Regions from separate parts of the Homo sapiens genome. Here region 2 is linked to region 1. The links are contacts of gene promoters, found by promoter capture Hi-C in blood cells and fetal thymus (Javierre and others, 2016). All regions are on one chromosome and are shown on one strand. The core of a region is centred on a gene start or on the middle of the fragment in contact, and the rest is flanking DNA. Distances in the headings are between cores, read along the strand shown. Region 1 holds the start of ZNF382 (zinc finger protein 382). Region 2 holds the start of LINC00665 (long intergenic non-protein coding RNA 665).

Region 1 (3,938 bases), core at 197-2,696:
GCCCCCACAGAGCTTCCAAAAGGGATCTTTTGGCTAGGCACGGTGGCTCACGCCTGTAATCCCAGCACTTTGGGAAGCCGAGGCGGGTGGATCACCTGAGGTCAGGAGTTCGAGACCAGTCTGACCAACATGGTGAAACCCCGTCTCTACTAAAAATACAAAAATGAGCCGGGCATGGTGGTGCATGCCTGTAATCCCAGCTACTCGGGAGGCTGAGGCAGGAGAATTGCTTGAACCCGGAAGGCGGAGGTTGCAATGAGCCGAGATTGCGCCACTGCACTCCAGCCTGGGCAACAAGAGCAAAACTCCATCTCACACACACACACAAAATCTTTGGAGAAACGAATCCTACTCCTGGGGCCTCAATATCATATCTTCCCAGAACCTTGCCTTGGGAGCAATTCCAGCTCTAACATCTCCATATCAAACACGAGGCTGTGCATATCAGAACACAGCCTTGTCCATGTGAAACACAAGGCTGTGCTTTTTCAGTTGGAAACTTCATTCTGGATCTCAAATATCCAACTTTCTTTTCGATAGCCATTTGACTGCACACTGTGCAACGTGGTTATAAGGTGAAATGACTGAGGCAGTGAAAGAAATCCCAGTATAACAAACTCCAAGAAACCACGTAACTTAAAATTGGCCCCAGAGGTTGGCGAGGCTGCATGCCACTGTGTATTATGCATTATGAAAGCGACAGGGGCCATGCTTTAGAACAGAAGGTCTCAGAGTCTTCACAGACACAGATCGAGCCATACGGGGACCTTGTCCACGTATTCCTGAGCCCCAGAACTGCAGAAATCAAACTCTACAAAAGCTGCACCAGGCCAGTTTTGATCACAGTCTCCAGTGGGTCACAACAGCGCTGTCACAGGATCACTGATAACAGCATGACACATTCATAGTCACCGCTCAGCGCCGTCACACAAACGGCCCCGCCCCCACTCAGTCCCGCGGGCCCAATCGGGGACAGTCAGGGCTGTCCCGGGCTGTGCACCTGCTGTGCACACACACCCCCTGCTGTGCACACCCCCCGCCCCCCCGGGACCATCACAGGCGCGCCCACTCACACCACCACACACGGACGCAGCCACAGAACGGCACACACAAACACAATCACACAGTCTCCCTCCCCAGCAGGTGACTTGCACACAGGCCTGGGGCTTCTGCCTCCACAAACCCTCTCCGCGTCCCATGAACCCAGGTCCCCTGCCGTGAGCTCTTCTCGCATCCAGACCCGGGTCACCTCAACTCACCACATGGAAAACGAACACCAGGTCAACGGAAAAGGGAGCCGGGGTCCTGGCAGAAGCGTAGTGCCAGCCGCAATAGGGCGGCCGTGGGTGCAAACGGAGGGGAGCGCCGGCAGCTAGCACCGCGCGGCGACTAACGGGCCGCCCCGGAGACTCCTGGGAGCTCAGGCCCACGCGCGAGTGCGCAGGCGCAGACGACTCACCCTGGGCCGGGGGTGAGGCTTGGTGGGTGCCAGGGGTGCTGAGGAGGCCAAGGAGGGCACTGGGAGCTCCGTTCCGGGAGAGCTGTCTAAGGACGCGGAACCGGGTGGGGAGGCCAGGGAGGTAACCAAGAGTCCGAGCCGGGCCTGGAAATTCTGAGGAGGAAACCGGGACCGCGGTATCCAGACGCTCCGATCTGTACGAGCCGGGCCTCGGGCGTGGTCCATGGGCGTGACCTTGAGGGTGACCCGGAGCGAGCTCCGCGAAGGGGGATTTTGCCCGTTCTGATCCCGCGGAAGCGCCATCGCTGGCGGCGGGTCCCCGCGCGGAGCGGGCGCTGTGTGTTCGCGCGCGCGGGCGCGCGCTGAATAGGGGTGGCCTCCTGCGCCCAACCTGCTGCATTTTAGGTGCTTGCCTCTCTTTGGGATGTTGTGGCCGATTGTGTGTGAAAAGTGAACGGAGTAGTGTTGCTGCGCGAGGTTTCCTCTGCGTGTGTCTATTTTTAGATTAGGTGTGAGTCGCATTTGAGACTGCCTTTGAGTGTGGAGAATTGCAAGTGATTTGTAGGTGTGGTTGTGACTGCCTGGAGTCGTGTTAGCTGCTGTCTGAGGTTGTGAATGACAAGTGGGGCCTGTAGGTTGGTGGTTCTCTGAAGGATGTTTGATTGACTGTGACTCTGCATGTGTTTGTAACCTACTGTTACTTCTGGTGGTTTTGTGGCCTTAGTGACCTAAATATTTGAATGATTGAGGAACTCTGTTATGACCATGGCTAGTTGGTTATGTAAGACTTGATTATCTGAATAGTAGCCATTAAGCCTGCCTCCAAAACTGTAACTAAGTAGCAATTTAGCAAATAAAATAGAGATAACAGTATCAGAGGGGAAGAGATGATTTTCATAATTCCCAGATTCATTTCCTGGAAACACCATATTAACTAAAACCAGTATGTTGAAATGAATAGCATTCCATTGGGGACATGCAGGAAATTTTTTTTTTTTTTTTTTTTTTACCATAACTACCACTTTTGTTGTTGTTTTTTGTTTGTTTTAAGACAAGGTCTTGCTCTTTTGCCCAGGCTGGAGTGTAGTGGCATGATCTCTGCTCACTGCCACCTCTACCTCTGAAGTTCAAGTGATTCTCCTGCCCCAGCTTCCTGAGTAGCTGGGACTACAGGCTTGTGCCACCACGCTCGGCTAGTTTTTGTATTTTTAGTAGAGATGGGGTTTCACCATGTTGCCCAGGCTGGTCTTGAACTCCTGACCTCAAGTGATCCCCTCCCCCCGCCCCCTCGGCCTGCCAAAGTACTGGGATTACAGGTGTGAGCCACTGTGCCTGGCATAACTACCACTTTCAACACTTGTATATGAGTGAGGTTTCCTACTCCCTTAGGCTTGCTAAGATAATAAAAAGTATTTGATAGATTTTTAATAAGTCCAGTCTCACTGTAGTAATTAAAATAGTTATTTTGCGGGCCTGGTGCAGTGACTGATGCCTGTAATCCCAGCATTTTGGGAGGCCAAGGTGGGCAGATCACCTGAGATCGAGAATTCGAGACCAGCCTGACCAACATGGAGAAACCCCATCTCTACTAAAAATACAAAATTAGCCGGGCATGGTGGTGCATGCCTGTAATCCCAGCTACTCAGGAGGCTGAGGCAGGAGAATCGCTTGAACCCGGGAGGTGGAGGTTGCGGTCAGTCAAGATTGTACCATTGCACTCCAGCCTGGGCAACAAGAGTGAAACTCTGTCTCAAAAAAAAAAAAAAAAAAGATTATTCTCAACTACAACATAGACCAGATAGGCAAAGATTTAAAAGTTGTCAACTGTCTTCATCAGGGCTTGGGAAGGTATTCTCATCCACTACTATCAGTGTAAATTGGCAAAAAGTCCAAGAAGAACCGTTTGGAAATACACAGTAAACCTGTGGTTAGAGGTAGATGGAAGGCAGAGCTGCAGAGGGAAAAACACAGTGTTCCCTCTCTTCAAGCTAAAACAGGTTCCCCAGAATCCTGTATACTTTACCAAGAGACTGGGTTTCTGGTGTTTGTGAGGGAGCCTGATTTGTCTGTTTTCCCACTAACTACCATCCTGGACATCTGAAGGGTACACAGGGTGGACAAGTGCTGAAATAGTGAACATTCATGCAGATTTAACTGAGTTAATTCTGGGAGTTCTGAGTCAAGTATGGTCTCACATACGTATATCCTCCATCTTTGCTTTCTCAGGACTGTTTCTTTTTCCAAAAGAGGAGCTCAAAAGAGAAAGTTCATCTAGAAATCTCAAAGCCATGTCTCAGGTGAGATGATGTTTCCTCTCTTTCTGAAATAACTTTTTTTCATGGTGTATGAACATGAGCTTCACTGTCCTTTAACCTTCCCTGATATTGGGATTTGCTTCCATGAAATTAGTCTTCAGTCAGGGCCAGATTAGGCTGAGGCAGGCAAGTGGCATGAGGTGAAATATTTAAGGGGTACCCTC
Region 2 (4,356 bases), core at 1,689-4,188, 270 kb before region 1:
ACCACAACAGCTAAATACCACTTGCCACATCACTGTAGCTTTAAGATTGAGGGAGGAGGACTAGAGGCCAGCCCGAGATCTCCTGGGTCAGTTGGATCTAGGTGTTCTCTCTCTTCTTCTAGATCTGTACCCTAAATACCTTTTGTGTCTCCATGACTCAAAGGCAAATAGCTCAAACCCAGCTTTTTCTTTTAAGGGTTCAAGGAGTGAGAGCAGAGCCAAGTCCTGGAGACGCTGAACTTGCTGTCGCACTGGAAAACGAGATGTGTGGGGTAGGGGGCAGGGAGGAGGAAAAGGACCACTTGGATCGTTTTTAAGATGGGAGAGTAGCCACAGAGGAACAGAGTAAGAATCTAAACGAAGTAAAGCAGTACGAGGGTAGGTTTCCCTACACAGTGTGCTATTTAAGGGCACAGGAAAAGTTACAGAATGACCAAAGAGGTGAGCAAGGAAATCTGCAGGGTGGCTGTTTTGAACCCACCACCAGTTTAGTTTAGAGGAGGTCCAATCAACCTGGATGTGGGGTATGACAATCTAAATACAACCATCATGGTGCCAGAAATCCCAATCAGGCGAATGTTTTTTTACACTCATTCCCGTAACAACACCTGACTTGCTTCTGGCAGAAAAGACAGGACTGTGGTGGCCAGCCTAAATGATTGATGAGAAATTTAACCTCCTGTGACAAAAAATCAGCACTAAGGACCTTGCAGAAGTTCTTACCCAGACGTCTTGGGCAATATCGACGTCCTGACATGCAAAACCTTGACAACCACTAAACAAGACAATAGACACCGAACAGAACAATAAACATAAAACAAACAGTTGACCCTAGGGCATGTAAACAGTTATGACAGTTTCTTCTTTTTTTTTTTTTAGACAAACAAGGGGAGGGGGTCCCGTGATGGGATCAGTCAGATGCCCGCCTGGCCGCTCCCCCTTAGGGGACTTGGGCTCCTCTTAGCATTGACAGGCCGGTATAAACCCCCGGCTCGGATCGAGCTATGCCGGATGCTGCCTTAAGCCTTATGAGGTCGCCACGGAACCGCAGGTGAGGGCCCACTTGAACTCCGTAGCTTTCGCCGTGGAGCTACAAACTGGAGGACAAGCGCAAGCCCTTGTCCTCCCCCATTCATTCACCATTCACACAGAGTTTATAACAGTTTTTCTTTTTTCTTTCCCAGAGATTCTCCAAGAAACCTGAACAAGGAAAGATTAGAGATAGAAAAAGAGAGAGAGAGAGACCAGTCTGCCAGAAACCAGGACTCAGTCCCCCAGCATCCTGGGATGTGGACTGACTCAAGGGATGGCCCCTGTCAGGGCCACTTCCCTCCCAGACAGAGACACAGAGGCGTCTAACAGAAAACCAGGGCTCTACCCTCTAGCATCCTAGAGAAATGGGCAGAGTCAAAAGAGGGACACCCTCATCAGGGTCGCTTCCCTCTGCCAGAACCAAAGTCAAATCTGACCTACCTGACCCCGGGGTCAGCAGTTGAGGACTCAGAGGTGGAATTTTTGTGGGCACCCACATGGTAGTCGATCCGCTGTCCTCCGGAAGACGGTCACCCTTTGGGGACCTGGAAATTTTTTTTTCAGGTGGCACTCCCCCCTACAAGCTGGCTGTCCTTCCGGGGGAGCACACAGCGGGCCCGGCTCTCGCCCGGTGACGTTTCTCCCGGTGACGTTTCTCGCTGGGGCCTCCAAATGTCGTACCTGAGCGAGTTAGAGAAAACGCCACACTTTGAGACAAATTAAAAGTCCATTTATTTAGCTGGCCGCCAAGAGATGGCTAATGCTCAAAATTCTCTCCGCTCTGAAGAAGGGGCTAGATCTTCTTTTATACTTTGGTTTAGAAAGGGGAGGGGAGGTCTAGTTAAAACAATTTTACAGAAATAAAGTAAGCAAAAAAGTTAAAAGGATAAATGGTTACAGGAAAGTTAATAGTTCCAGGTGCAGGGGCTTTAAGATTATTACAAGGTGATAGACGCGGGGCTTTTGGGCATAATCAATCGGATGAATTCCTCGGAACTGCGGATATAGCTTGCCACAGTATCTTAACAGTTAATTGCATTCTTGGATGTGCTGGGAGTCAGCTTGCACAAGTTAAGTCCTTGAGGAAGGGGCTGCCAGTGAAAGAGCCAAGATGGAGTCCATCTGGCGCTCTTAGCTAAGGGAGAGTCAATTCAGGTGGAAACAAGGCTAGGTGATTTAAGGAAAGGGAGAGTCTAAAAACAGGGTTAGTAAAAACCAGGTTGGGCATTACACTACTAAGATATCAAAACCAGGAACTTACTTCCTTTAAAACAATTCCAAACTAACTCGCTGTGCCTTACACAGAAATTTCCCCCAAGAAATATGGTTTTATAAAGCCTGAGAAGTTGTTGCTATTAGGACAAACACCAAAACTAAAAATTGGTTTAATTAGCAACAACAAAATTCCATTTTAACTGGCTGTCCTTATCAGAGACAGTCCACTAAATAATACAACTGGCAAAAAGTGAGATTTTGTAAAGGTTGGGGTGCTTTATTATAAACATAACATAAACCAGGAATGTATTTTAATAAACCTCAACCTGCGGGTCACTCCCTCCCAGGCGTGCAACAAAACACCTGCCTAGAAATCAAAAGGCGTTTTACCCGAGTGGGCTGAAAAAGCCCCGTTTTTACCTTTAATCTGGAGACAATACGGGTCAGAGGTCAGGAAACTACATCAGCGCCAGTGCGAGCGCCCACGAGTCCGGTGGACGGATGAGAAACGGCCGGGGGGCAGCCTGAGTCCCAGTTCCCGCCGTGGCAATGGCCAATTTCCCACCCGTGGACGCAAAAGGCCAGGACTCCACGCTGCTGACCCTCCAGCGTCCCATGTCCGGCAGGCACGTGGCCGAATAGCCCAAGACTGAGGACTCACACTTCCCACTTTGCACCTGGAGGCCACCTGCAGACCAACCTTGCGCCAGGCTTCCGGAAATGGGAGGGCGGGCTTCCGGAAACGGCGGCCAATGGGAAACGTGATCAGATGTTACTAGGCAGACAGTCCGTTTCCAGGCAACACAGAAGAAAGGAACGCGCTCAGTCAGCCTCAAATAGACGGAGATTTCAGCCAATGGATGTGCAGGTTCCCTCCACATTAGCCAATAAGAAGTGCTTGGGGCCTACCTGCCTACAAGCACAGCAAAAGCTTTCCTGCGCATTTTTGCGCTGGAATGGCTACCTGCCGCGCCAAATCAAAATTTACAATCACCCTTGGTGCTGTTTCCTGCACTTTCTTGGAGATTTGCACCAGGCGCTGGAGACCCTCCCACCTGGCCCATGCCTGCCACCCGGTGAACACCAAGACCCAACCTTCTGCACCACCAGTCTTGTTGTCAGCGAACAGGCTAGTAAATTATTGAAGGGGTGGCCTGCCCCTCCACACCTGTGGGTATTTCTCGTCAGGTGGAACGAGAGACTGAGAAAAGAAAGAGACACAGAGACAAAGTATAGAGAAAGAAAAGTGAGCCCAAGGGACCGGCGCTCAGCACACGGAGGACCTACAGGGACACTGGTCTCTGAGTTCCCTCAGTATTTATTGATCATTATCTCTACCATCTCGGAGAGGGGGATGTGGCAGGCCAATAGGGTAATAGTGGGGAGAGGGTCAGCAGGAAAACGTGAACAAAGGTCTCTGTGTCATAAATAAGTTTAAGGAAAGGTGCTGTGCCTTGATGTGCACTTATACAAACATCTCGGTGCATTAAAGAGCAGTATTGCCGCCAGCGTGTCTCACCTCCAGCCCTAAGGATGTTTTCTCCTATCTCAGTAAGTAGAACATACAATCGGGTTTTACACCAAGACATTCTATTGCCCAGGGACGAGCAGGAGACAGATGCCTTCCTCTTACCTCAACTGCAAAGAGGCCTTCCTCTTTTACTAATCCTCCTCAGCACAGACCCTTTTCGGGTGTCGGGCTGGGGGATGTCGGGCTGGGGGACAGTCAGGTCTTACCCTTCCCATGAGGCCATATCTCAGGCTATCACATGGGGAGAAATCTTGGACAATACCTGGCTTTCCTAGACAGAGGTCCCTGCGGCCTTCCGCAGTGTATTGTGTCCCTGGGTACTTGAGATTAGAGAATGGTGATGACTTTTAACAAGCATATTATCTTCAAGCACTTTTTTAACAAAGCATAGCCCTAAATCCATTGAACCTTGAGTCAACACAGCACATGTCTCTGTGAGCACAGGGTTGGGGCTAGGGTTACAGATTAACAGCATCTCAAGGCAGAAGAATTTTTCTTAGTACAGAACAAAATGGAATCTCTTATGTCTACTTCTTTCTACATAGACACAGTAACAGTCTGATCTCTCTTTTCCCCAC

The links. Contacts are between HindIII fragments. The CHiCAGO score rates a contact against its expected background, and 5 or more counts as called.
Region 2: the fragment with the promoter of LINC00665 here is called in contact with the fragment with the promoter of ZNF382 in region 1 in 14 of 17 cell types (fetal thymus, total B cells, naive CD8 T cells and 11 more); the score reaches 17.5 in fetal thymus.

The regions. Positions count from the first base shown.
Region 1 is chr19:36,603,867-36,607,804 of GRCh38, forward strand. ZNF382 (zinc finger protein 382) reads left to right here and starts at 1,447. Exons shown (of 5, transcript NM_032825.5): 1 at 1,447-1,481; 2 at 3,686-3,756. It also overlaps a transcript of ZNF529 not described here. RefSeq lists enhancers at 719-858, 1,839-1,898 and a silencer at 1,419-1,478. The HindIII fragment of the contact is 5,073 bases long and covers 1-3,938 here.
Region 2 is chr19:36,328,780-36,333,135 of GRCh38, forward strand. LINC00665 (long intergenic non-protein coding RNA 665) reads right to left here and starts at 2,939. Exons shown (of 6, transcript NR_038279.1): 1 at 2,668-2,939; 2 at 1,474-1,713. The HindIII fragment of the contact is 13,687 bases long and covers 1-3,176 here.